Linked DNA regions of Homo sapiens: regions 2 and 3 are each linked to region 1. The links are contacts of gene promoters, found by promoter capture Hi-C in blood cells and fetal thymus (Javierre and others, 2016). All regions are on one chromosome and are shown on one strand. The core of a region is centred on a gene start or on the middle of the fragment in contact, and the rest is flanking DNA. Distances in the headings are between cores, read along the strand shown. Region 1 holds the start of CIBAR1-DT (CIBAR1 divergent transcript). Region 2 has its middle 19 kb from the start of MIR378D2. Region 3 has its middle 26 kb from the start of PDP1.

Region 1 (3,662 bases), core at 204-2,703:
AGGTTACTGTGCCAACCTCAAAGCCAAGCATAATACCTGGAACACACCAGGCATCCAACCAATAACATGCTGAGCGAATGCAAGGAGCAAAGAGAGATACACATTGTAACACAAGCGAATAGGGGAAGTTCAAAACAAAGGACTGAGGACATCTATTTGTACAAAATAAAAACTTTTAATCAGCAGCACACGGCAGCGAGGAATACAAGACCAAAATCACATTTAATCTGTCTCAAAGGGTTCAAAGTCTAGGGTACAGGAGGCAGTACAAAATCAACGAAGTGTACTGTTTGAGCATTCCAACACTTCGCTCCTTCAGACAGTATTAGGACCCCGTCCCAAAGCGTTAGGACAAGGCCCTAACGCTGCCTGAAAAAGTGAAGTGACGGAGGATCCCAGAGAGGTTTCTTGAAGCAGATAAAGTCTGAATTGAGGCCGGGCCCGGTGGCTCACGCCTGGAATCCCAGCACTTTGGGAGGCTGAAGGGGGGCGGATCACTTGAGGCCAAGAGTTCAAGACCAGCCTGGCCAACATGGCGAAACCCCGTCTCTACTAAAAATACAAAAAATCAGGCCAGCATAGTGGTGCACGCCTGTAATCCCAGCTATTTGAGAGCCTGAGGCAGGAGAATCGCTTGAACCCAGGAGGCGGAGGTTGCAGTGAGCCGAGATTGTGCCACTACACTCCAGCCTGGGCAACAGAGCGAGACTCCATCTAAAATACATATATAAATAAACAAAGTCTGAATAGAGTCCTTGCAGTATTTACTGGGAAAAGCAGCACACGCAAGGCCAGGAGGGTCAAAGGGACAGAGGCGTTCAAAGGACAAAGGAGAGCCTCCTGTTTGTTTGGGGTTTTATTCTTTTTGAATTTTTGTTCCCCCAGGCCAACTCTAAGAGCCAGAACTGTTCGTTATTTATCTCAGCACAGGTTCGGTGTAAGCGTTGCCTCCTTACCCGACGCTCAGGCCCTTCAGGTCCGGGACCCCTGCTTCTTAATTATGTTTCTATTACTCCCAGTGTCTAACACAATCTCTTCCACGAAGTCGGAACTTGATACATATTTGCTGAATAAACGAAAAGTTAAAGATGAGGCAGAAAGCACAGCTCCTTCCAAGGGCAGCTCTCAAGAGCCCACGTTTTCAGATTCAGCAGTGAAGCGGACGCGTCTGGTACGAGACTACAAGTCGCACAGGCGGAGAGGGGGCCCCCGGGCCTCTGGTTTCACGTCTCCCTCCTGGTCCCCGGCGGACCGGCGTCTTTTCTCCCCTGCTCGGAGTAGCCTAGCAGCGCTGGAGGCTGGCTGTCTGGTAAGCGCGGCTGTTAGAGAGGATGGAGGCGCCGTAGCCCCGCGGTGCTTCTCACAGCCTTCGCCGGCAGGGACGCGCGGGACAACCGCGCAGGCGGCTCTGCAGGGGTGGGCGCGCCATCACCCCTCTCGGTCCCTGCCTGCTTGGCGCTTTCCGAGCCCCAGCCGCGCTCAGGCTGCCTCGGGCATTGACCGCGGGGGCGCGCGCCCCGTTTCCATAGAAACGCCCGGCCTGCCGCGGCGGCGCGAGGGGCGGGCTTTCAGGCTCCCGGCGGCTGCTTGCGCCCCAGCGCGCGCCCAGGCGCCTTGGAATCCCCGTCCTTGGGCCCCCGCAAGGTCCCCGGCCGTGCGCGAGGCAGCATGATGAGGCGCACCCTGGAAAACCGGTAACAGCCCGAGCCCAGCTGCCCAGGGCCGCCCACACTGGAGGGCTGGGGTGAGGGAAGTGGAAGCCTCTGTCCATGGGGCCTCTGCGCCGAATTCCGACCCTGAGTGGGAGGCTGCACGGTCCCCGCTGTGACCTGGGGCCTAATTCCTTGGGCTGCAGCCACCGCCGGCGGCGAAGAGGAGCCCGGGGCCCGGCCGGCTGCCACCCACCCACGCCACCGGGTCTCGGGTCCCCACACTGCCGCGGGCAGTGCGGAAGCCTAGGAGGCAGCCGGGCGCCCAGGCCGCGCTGCGCGGAGCAGCCGGAGCAGCCACCTCCCCAGTTAAGGCCAGGCCCACCCGGCCTGGGCCTTTTCCTGTGCCTACACAGTCCGGATAGTGAGGTCAGGACCCCATGGAGAGCAGTCCGCGCCGGGAGACGCTGGGTCGTTGATGGGTTTACGCCTTCAAAGCTGCAGAATGCCCGGGGAATGTTTGCATGTTAAATTAACGTGAAGCCTTCTCATCTCTAACGAGAATGTTTTGCCTTTTGTGTCACCTTTTCCCTAGGAACGCTCAAACGAAACAACTGCAAACAGCTGTCTCAAATGTGGAGAAGCATTTTGGAGAACTGTGCCAAATCTTCGCTGCCTATGTGCGGAAAACTGCCAGGCTGAGAGACAAAGCAGACCTCCTGGTGAATGAAATTAACGCGTATGCTGCTACAGAGACCCCGCATTTAAAGCTGGGCCTGATGAACTTTGCAGATGAGTTTGCCAAACTTCAGGATTATCGACAAGCAGAGGTATGGAGTGAGATCACAGTGTCATTGTTATGAATGAGCCATGAAGTAGTGGATGAAGGAACCGTGGAAACTTTCACTTGTAATCTACCTAACTGCAGAGGTGGATGCAAACTTGATAAAACGTACATTTTCATAAGACTGTGTGAGTCTATTAAAGAGAAGCGTTCTGTGTTTTATTTTACCCTTTTCAAGCTAACCTTTAGGGCATCTTGAGGTCTTGAATTTCCCCACTTTATTTGCCAACTTTTGGCCAAGGGGTGGCTGTTTACTGGGGGTAGTGGGAATAGTACCCAGGGGGAAGAAAATAAGCATAACTTAATGTCTTGTGTGGCACATAAGTACGTTTTAAAGAATGACTGGAGATGGAAATGTTGGGAATGGTAATGTGGATGGATAAATTATTAATAAATGGGTAAGACATCATTGCTGCATCCATGGTTTGGAAAATTGACCAATGGTTTACTAACAACAACAAAATGCTATGAATTGTATCATGGAAGCAAACCAATACTGAGACACCGTGTGGACTTTTTGCTCTGGGTAGCAGGAGAAGTGTCCTTGTGATTGTTTTCTTTCTAAAAGCCCATATTTTTCCTTTAAATACTTAATAAGCACTTTTACTTGTATTTATTTTCAGTTTCACGGCATAGGTTAACTTATCAGAAGTTGCCCAGTTAGAACTGCGTTGCTTTTTTATACTTTTCAGAACCTAAAACGGGAATTTCAATTTTCAAAAAACAGAATGAGTATAAAAAAAATTGAACTCATCATTGCTATCCATACAAATTTGAAGAGTAATCATATTTGGAGGTACTTTTGGAAAAATGTGGAGTTCTTGTCATGAAACTTCTGTAATAAACAAGTAACTCTCAATTATATATGATAACTGGGGACTTAATGTTTCAAAGATAATTTATATTCACAGGTAATCCTAAAATCTTATTTTAGCCAATAATTTCAATGCCCCTTTGTAGAAAACCTTTGTGCTATTTATCAAATAGCAAAGTGAATTGATTTGCATTTGTTCTCCTTTTATTTCCCTTGCTTACCAAATGGTGGAGGTCCTAATGAACAATGACAAAAAGGTAGGCAACAAAAAGGAGAACAGAAAAAAGACTTAGATAATCCTTAAACTGAATAATCAGTATGGATTATAAGAAATGGTGTAAAGCAAACTGTCCTG
Region 2 (4,053 bases), core at 840-3,339, 200 kb after region 1:
GTATGGATTTGTCAAAAAGAGAATGTTCACTTAAAATTTGTACATATCGTTATGCATAACTTAACAATAACTATAAATAAAACTAAACTTTAATGCAATGTATGCTGAAGTATTTAGGGAGAAGTGATGTCTGCAACTCATTTTGAAACGTATCAATAAATTAGATGGATTGATGGATGGATAGGGATGAATAGATAGGTAAATATGTGATAAAGCAAGTATAGTAACATGCTGTGATAGAATCTAGGTGGTGGGTATATGAATGTTTAGTATTAAATTCTTCCATATTTTCTTCCACTGAAATCCTGTGTTTCTGAAAATCTTCATAACTTATATTGGATATAAGTTCATTAGCTTCTTTCATCCTCCAAAACTGGTACATCCTCCTGTTCACACTTCCTTTGGTTCTCATGGTTTCTGGAGGCAGAGACAGCCTTGCGACTACAGCTACCCATGCAGTGCTATTTGAGGGACTCCAGAAGGCATCTCTGCTCAGCATCCCCCCTCACCTCCTTCTCCTACCAGTCACAACAGAAGATTTCTTTTTTTTTTTTGAGATGGAGTCTCGTTCTGTCACCCAGGCTGGAGTGCAGTGGCATGATCTCGGCTCACTGCAAGCTCTGCCTCCCGGGTTCACGCCATTCTCCTGCCTCAGCCTCCCGAGTAGCTGGGACTACAGGTGCCCATCACCACGCCCGGCTAATTTTTTTGTATTTTTAGTAGAGACGGGGTTTCACCGTGTTAGCCAGGATGGTCTTGATCTCCTGACCTCGTGATCCACCCACCTCGGCCTCCCAAAGTGCTGGGATTACAGGCGTGAGCCACAGCGCCTGGCCACAACAGAAGGTTTCTACTAAGCATTTATTTCTTTAGATCTAGAGGGAGTTTAGGTCATCACAAATCTCCTATCAATATGCAAATATTCCCAGGTCAGGGAAGTAATTTAAACCTGGGGGGACTTACTTGTCAAATAAAGGAAAGCAGAGTCTTTTGTGACAGTAAATAAAATATACGGACAAGAAAGAGAAAGAGAGAATCTATGTAGGAGGCTAAGACATGTCAAAGCCAAACCACAATATACAGTTTTGCCTAGAGCCAGGTGTTTGAGACCTGGCTTAAACCTTAAAAAAGTACGGTTTATCTATAGGGAATAACTCTAATCCCCGTTCCTCAAGGGATAACAGCCAGAACCTAGAAATAGAGTCAAGATCATGGTCATCAAAACACAATTCTCTGGCCCCAGGCTTGTTTGCTCTATAGAACTGAAGTTCCTCAATTTCCTCCACTTCATTCTGGGAGGCATTAGACGATGTCTTGTGCACGTCTGAGAATGAATCCTCTCCCTCCTTGACCTGCTGAGGCTGTGAGTTTCTCCTGGGCATGCCCGCAAGGTCTGGATGCCTGCCTGGAGCTGATTTCCTCTCCCATGCCATCTCTGGTCCAGATGTAGGCTTGGTTCAGCCCATGCCTCTGCTCAGCTGCTTTGCCCATTCCGAGTTCTAAGACCCGAATGAGGAATGTTCCCTTTGTCCTCTAAATCCCCATGTTTTCCCTAGAAACTTCACTGAAACCCTGTTTTGCATATATATATATATAGTAGAGACGGGGTTTCACTATGTTGGCCAGGCTGGTCTCGAACTCCTGACCTTGTGATCCGCCTGCCTTGGCCTCCCAAAGTGCTGGGATTATAGGTGTGAGCCACTGCACCTGGCCTCCTGTTTTGTACTTTCGATTGCAGCCTCTTCTCTTCAAGGTTTGGGTACAGCTCATGGGGGCAAGACTGGGGCCACCTATGGGACAGACTAGGGCTGTACTGATAGAGCCACCCCTTATCACTGACTCAATGTTCTTGGACTGTCTTGCAACTCTCTTCTCTTTCCTCAGGATGAATTCTCAGTTCATCCTGAGGAAAGAGAAGAGAGTTGCAAGACAGTCCAAGAACTAAGGCTTTTTGTTCCTTCATGTAAGTAGGCCACCCATAACTGCTTCCCCTTCTGTTTCTTTTGAGGCACAACTGAATTACGAGGAGATCCCAGCTGAAGCTATCAGGATGGGACACTAGTTTCTGAATAAAAATAAATGGATGCAGACTTCAAGTTACATTACTGCATTCCACTGAGAGAGAGTCTTATATCTTCAACTCCTTGCTTATGAGCTTGGCCATGTGATTTGCTCTGGCCAATGACCCATTAGCAAATGCGACACAAACAGAGTCTTGGAAACAGTTCTACAATGGGAGCTGCCTTCTTTTCTTCTTTTGGAAGACAGTAGCCAGTAGCCTGAGGTAGGTGCTAGATGCTGCAGACACAGGGCCCAGTTGCTTTTGCACCATAGCCAACTACCAGATGTGTGAGTGGGGCCATCTCTGATCAATCAGCTTCTGGCTGACCTGCCAGCTGACTGCAGCCACATGTGTGAGCCCAGGCGGTACCAACCAAATAACCACCTAGCTAAGTTCAGTTCAAATTGCCAACACCTGGAATCATGAGCTGCTCAGTAATTATTGTTTTAAGTCACTAAATTCTGGATTGGTTTGTAAGGCAGAAACAGATAAATGATACACTGTTGGGTGGGCAGAAGAGGAATTGATGGAATAAGCATCCATAATTGATTGAGGAGATAAGACCTAAGGTCCTTTTCAGATTCTGAAATTATATGATTTGATGAGAAAATCCCAATGTCTGCAATAAGTGTAATGCATGTAATTTAAATTTATAATTTAAGAACTTTTCCTCTCTTCTCCTATCTTTTACGTTTACAATCTCAGAGATATGTGACTGATTATCTACACCGGGATCTTATTACTTCTTGGCCATGCCTTGTTCTGTTGCCACCAAGTACCCCAAGTACACAACCTTTCTTAAGTGTGCACTGTTTGTAAAATTTAACTTTGCATCATTCATATCCTAATCTTGAATAAGAGCTACATACATAAAAAGAGTTGAGACTTATGTATGAATTAATTTTTTAAATAAAAAGATATTGAGATCACTTGCAAAGTCACACACAACCATAAAGAATGCAGCTGCCATAACATTAAAGGAAATTACCTCTAGGCTTCCATCCAGTATGATGCAATTTTCAAGGACTAAGACAGAGGCCTTGAAAATGGGCGGCAATAATGGAAATGCTGACATATCCATAACTCCCACTGCTTAAGGAATGGTAAAGAAAGACTAGAATAATAATGACACATTTAGAATCCCCAGTATTTTTACCTAGTGTTGGCAGCAAGTGATGGAACAGGCTTTCATAATAACATTATAATTAAATTACAAATTGTTTGTCTAAATAATTTCTGAAAGTCAAGAAAAACAGTGCTGTATTTAATTTGGGATAAGATTTCATTTTGCTGAGGTTTTTGCTTCCTGCTCCCAAGTGAGAGGTTTCTCAGATAAGACCCTACCCTGTCCTGGTTTACATACCTGGTGTCCACGGAGGGAAATGCAGGACAGAGGCAGATGAATCTTTGTAAACAACAGGTACTGTTGCACTAAGGACTGTAGGCCTGGAGTTCTTGGAAAATGTCCTTTTTCACCTCCCCCCTCCCCTTCCCTGGTTTTGACACAGTTTTCTCTTTGAAAACACAGGGATATCAGGAAAGAGTGTGAACAGAGTCTCATCTCCATTTATGCTCTCCCCATACCCCCTGCTCTGCTTGCAAGTCCCCCGAGGACCTCAAAGGGTATCCTCCTCCAGATACTGAGAGCTGACCCAGCAGGAGGGGCCCGGGAAAGTTTGAAGGTGCAGCCACCCTTATTCATTACAGAATGTCCTCTCTTCTTATCTTGCCTTTTTTTAGCCTGAAGGACAAAGAAAGAGAGAGGAGTCTCGATTTTCCTTGTTAATCTGCTCCAGCTGGCAGCCTGTCCAACATTTGAAATCATCTGTGATGTAACAATTATTTTTTTAAAACACTAACATCCCATTTTATGTAATTTTATGGGATAACAGGATGGCAATTTAGCTTAGAAAACATTTTGACCAACGATCATTCAGACAAATAAAAATGAGGACAAAAAGGATGACTGTGACAAGCAAAATAGAACAGCC
Region 3 (3,733 bases), core at 218-2,717, 240 kb after region 1:
AGAAAAGAAAAAAACAGCTTAAGTGCAGGGTGGGGAAGGTGCCTGGGGGAAAAAGCCTCTTGATCTATGCAATTGGGTTCCTCCAAAAGGGAGAGAAATTCTTAATCTGTGCTTCCTTTTTGCCTCTAAGAATAGACAGAAACTGCATTGTTCTGAATTGCATATCTGATGGCTGGGCCAAATGCTCTTTCCACCTAGTAATATTTCTGTAGTTTGCAACAACACCCTTAACATTGTAAGGGAGATAATGCCATGACATCTGTGAAAAAAAAAGAAGGAAAATGCTATAGGAAAAACTGGATTGGAATGAGGCTGACATTCCCAACCCCAGAGATGATGGAGGTGGGGATGTCGAGGTCCTTTCCAGCATCCTGTCCTCTTAGTTGCGCCATTGCTCTTAATTGGCTCACCAGAGGTTTGGTGCTTCATCTGCCTTCAGAAAAGAGTCTGAGGACAAGAAGCCTCGGAAAAAAGTGAAGTGTCTACGTCCGCATTTACTCACCCTTCAGGTATCCTGGGTTATTCCCCAAAATGATGTAGGATTTTTCTTTTCAGTCAGTTTGCAAGCCAGGGACCCCCAGTTGGTGATGCCCCACCCGGTCCTTGCTCGACCATGCTGGCATGCCCCAGCTCACCTGTGTTATAGTTTGTACCTGCGTTTGGCGGTTCCTGAGCTCTTGTACTGTGCCCAAGGAGAGGGGAGAATAATTATATTGAGCAACTGAACAGCTCTCAGTGGAGAGGAGACACGGCGGGTGGCCCCCAGCCCTGCAGTCGGGCGGTTCTCTCCTCCCCACATGGCCAGGTCCAATGCCTTTATGAGTTCAGAATAGGGGTGGGGCAGGCCATAGGTAGTATTGGAAAAGGCAACATTTGATTGGTTAAAAGGCATTATTCAGAAAGAATCGATTGGGAAAGGGCAGGCAAACAAGAACAGAAGTTTTCACTCTGAGTTGTGGGTTTCATCTGGGACCAGCAGTCTGGTCTGTCAACCTTTAGGCTGTTTTTGGTTTAAAGGTGGGGTTTCACTGGGGACCCGCCCCTATCTGCCTAGGCATTTGGCTGCTTCCTGTCGTTATCATTGGTACGGAGATATTACAGTATTGCTGAGCTGTTTTTGAATTCCATGCACAAGCACTCTGATCTGGATCCGCACCACCGTGCACCAAACCGCTACGCTTGGTAATGGGTTCTACTTTGTGTGCACTTTGCTCATCATACAGAATGGATTTCTGTGTCTTCTCAGTGCTAATACCACACCATTTGCAGCTGTAATTCCCACTGAAGGGGCTCCTCCCACTACAGCAGCTAAAGCATATTCAGTGTGGACAAGTGTACCAGATGGGCTGAGTGTAGTCAGCAAGAAGCTGTACCTGTGCTCTGCCATCTTTACCTGGAGAGCCAAAGCACATCCCCTCACTTTTCTTCTCTGGCTCCCAACCTGACTTTAACTGTGTTTTCCCTCCGTGCCTCTGTGCAAAATACCAAACACAAGTACTGGAGATCCAATTCCAGAATGGCAGTGTGAGAAGTTTCTCGGACCTGCTTCCCAGTGAAACATCAGTAATTGGTGAAAATTATTAGGAGAAAAACCCCAACACTTAGAGTCACTGGAGATTGTCCAGAGAACATACAGCAAATGAATAAATATTTATTCAAGTAAATCTACTAAATTTTGGACAGTGAGAGTCTGCGACACTTGATCTGCTCCCTGCCTCCCGCTACCCTCAAACTCCATGTGATGGAAGATCCACTGCAGGTTGGGTGGCCAAGAATATGGAGACCCAGCTCCCAGTCTCTCCCAGAGTTCAGGCTGCCAGCATTTCTCTCATCCCCTTCTCCATGTGGCAGAGGCTAAATTCTCAGTGAGTACAGCCAAAGAGGTGGGGACTCCTGTCCTTCACTCAGCTCTCTACTGCTACCCTAGACATGACAGGTTGAAAACACTAGGCCCCAGTTGCTTTTGCCCCGGCTTGCTTTTAGGGCAGATGTTGCTCACTGGAAGAACCAAGCCAAGAAAACTAGATGCTACTGCTCCTGTCCAGCATGCTGCTCATAAAACAAGGGTGTCATTTTGAAAGAAGTGTGCCACTGTCCCCACCCCCAGCTCCGGAGCAATGGTACAGAGGTTTTGCCCAGGGAGAGCAGGCCATAAGAAGAGAGAGCTCTGGCTGGGCACGATGGCTTATGCCAGCACTCCTAGCACTTTGGGAGGCTGAAGCAGGCAGATTGCTTGACCTTAGGAGTTCAAGCCCAGCCTGGGCAACATGGCAAAACCCTGCCTCTACAAAAAATACAAAAAAAATAGCTGGGTGTGTGGTGCATGCCTGTAGTCTCAGCTACTTGAGGAGCTGAGGTGGGAGGATTGCTTGAGCCCAGGAGGTCAAGGCTGAAGTGAGCTGCAATCACACCACTGCACCCCATCCTAGGTGACAAAGTGAGACCTTGACTCTAAATAAATAAATAAGAGAGAGAGAGAGCATGAGCTCTGAGCTATCTTTAAATAAATTGACTTTATCTTAAGCAAAATGTGAGGAAGTTGATGCCTGAGGGCTCTCTGGAAAACAATGGAAGTTAAGGTGATAAGCAATTAAGAGGAGGCTGGTAGCCCCAGGGGAGCTATGAGCTAACACAGGTCAGCTGATTTACCAAAGAGACAAGGGGAGGGGTAGGGGAGAAAGCTAAGAAGATCCTTCCTGGGGTTGGAACAAACCTCAAAGACTAGCCTCAAAAACCACTCCTGCAAATAGGCCCAGATTTAATTGGATCCAACGGTAATTTATGCTGCAGGACATCCAGGACATTATCAAAAACAATAGAGCAATCAACATGCAATTAGTGGAGCCTAACAGCTGGATGTGATACCAACAGAGGCAGACAGCTTAACAGAGAGATCAGGGAAAGACGCAAAGAAAGCCCTGCTAAAATCACTGTCACTTCTGGGTGACTGTGCAAATGTCCAAGATCATGTCCTCTGAAGATCAACTTCAGAGGCTTCACTGTGGAGAAAATAGACTTTCCTGAAATAGCCCTGACATGTCACTAAAAAATAAGAAAACAACAAAAAGTAGCTCTATAGGTTTGTAGGGAAGAATCAGTATATAGCATTCTTAAAATATATTATTCAATTGTCTAGTTTTCAACAAAAAAAGGCAAGATATGCAAAGAATCAGGAAACTGTGACTCACACACAGAGGGGAAAAAAAGCAGACAACCAAAACTGCCTGTCAGAAGGCCCATATGTCAGACTTGACAAAGACTTCAAACTAGTTATAATAAATATGTTCAAAGAACTAAAGGAAACTATGCTTAAAGAAGTAAAGAATAATATGATGACAATCTCATCAAATAGAGACTAGCAATAAAGATATATATGTCAACCAATAATTTGGTTGTTACACATTTTAACTCAAGAATTTTCATTTGGTTCTTTACATGCATATGTGTATATATATATATATACATATACATACATACACACACATACACATATATATTTATTTAAATACATAAATTTATATTACACATAGTGCAGCATATGCAAAGATGTATATATGTAATATCAGTTTATGTATTTACATAAATGTGTATATATGTACATATACATATATGTATGTATGTTTATATGTAAATAATGAACCAAATCAAAATTCTAGAGTTGAAATGTAAAACACCAAGGTGAAAAATTTACTAGAGGGCCTCAAGAGTAGATTTGGCAGAACAAAGAATCAGC

The links. Contacts are between HindIII fragments. The CHiCAGO score rates a contact against its expected background, and 5 or more counts as called.
Region 2: a fragment that was not itself captured here is called in contact with the fragment with the promoter of CIBAR1-DT in region 1 in 1 of 17 cell types (naive CD8 T cells); the score reaches 5.1 in naive CD8 T cells.
Region 3: a fragment that was not itself captured here is called in contact with the fragment with the promoter of CIBAR1-DT in region 1 in 14 of 17 cell types (total CD4 T cells, naive B cells, naive CD8 T cells and 11 more); the score reaches 8.7 in total CD4 T cells.

Annotation. Positions count from the first base shown.
Region 1 is chr8:93,698,980-93,702,641 of GRCh38, forward strand. It overlaps CIBAR1-DT (CIBAR1 divergent transcript), which reads right to left and starts at 1,454. Exons shown (of 11, transcript NR_033858.1): 1 at 957-1,454. It overlaps CIBAR1 (CBY1 interacting BAR domain containing 1), which reads left to right and starts at 1,571. Exons shown (of 9, transcript NM_145269.5): 1 at 1,571-1,694; 2 at 2,245-2,479. The coding sequence starts at 1,669. RefSeq lists enhancers at 1,090-1,169, 1,199-1,823 and silencers at 1,390-1,439, 1,470-1,609, 1,800-1,919. The HindIII fragment of the contact is 5,458 bases long and covers 1-3,662 here.
Region 2 is chr8:93,894,857-93,898,909 of GRCh38, forward strand. No RefSeq gene overlaps it. Among named protein-coding and RNA genes, the nearest start is that of MIR378D2, 19 kb to the right of the region's middle. The HindIII fragment of the contact is 8,617 bases long and covers 1-4,053 here.
Region 3 is chr8:93,941,491-93,945,223 of GRCh38, forward strand. It overlaps the pseudogene PSMA2P2. Among named protein-coding and RNA genes, the nearest start is that of PDP1, 26 kb to the left of the region's middle. The HindIII fragment of the contact is 6,976 bases long and covers 1-3,733 here.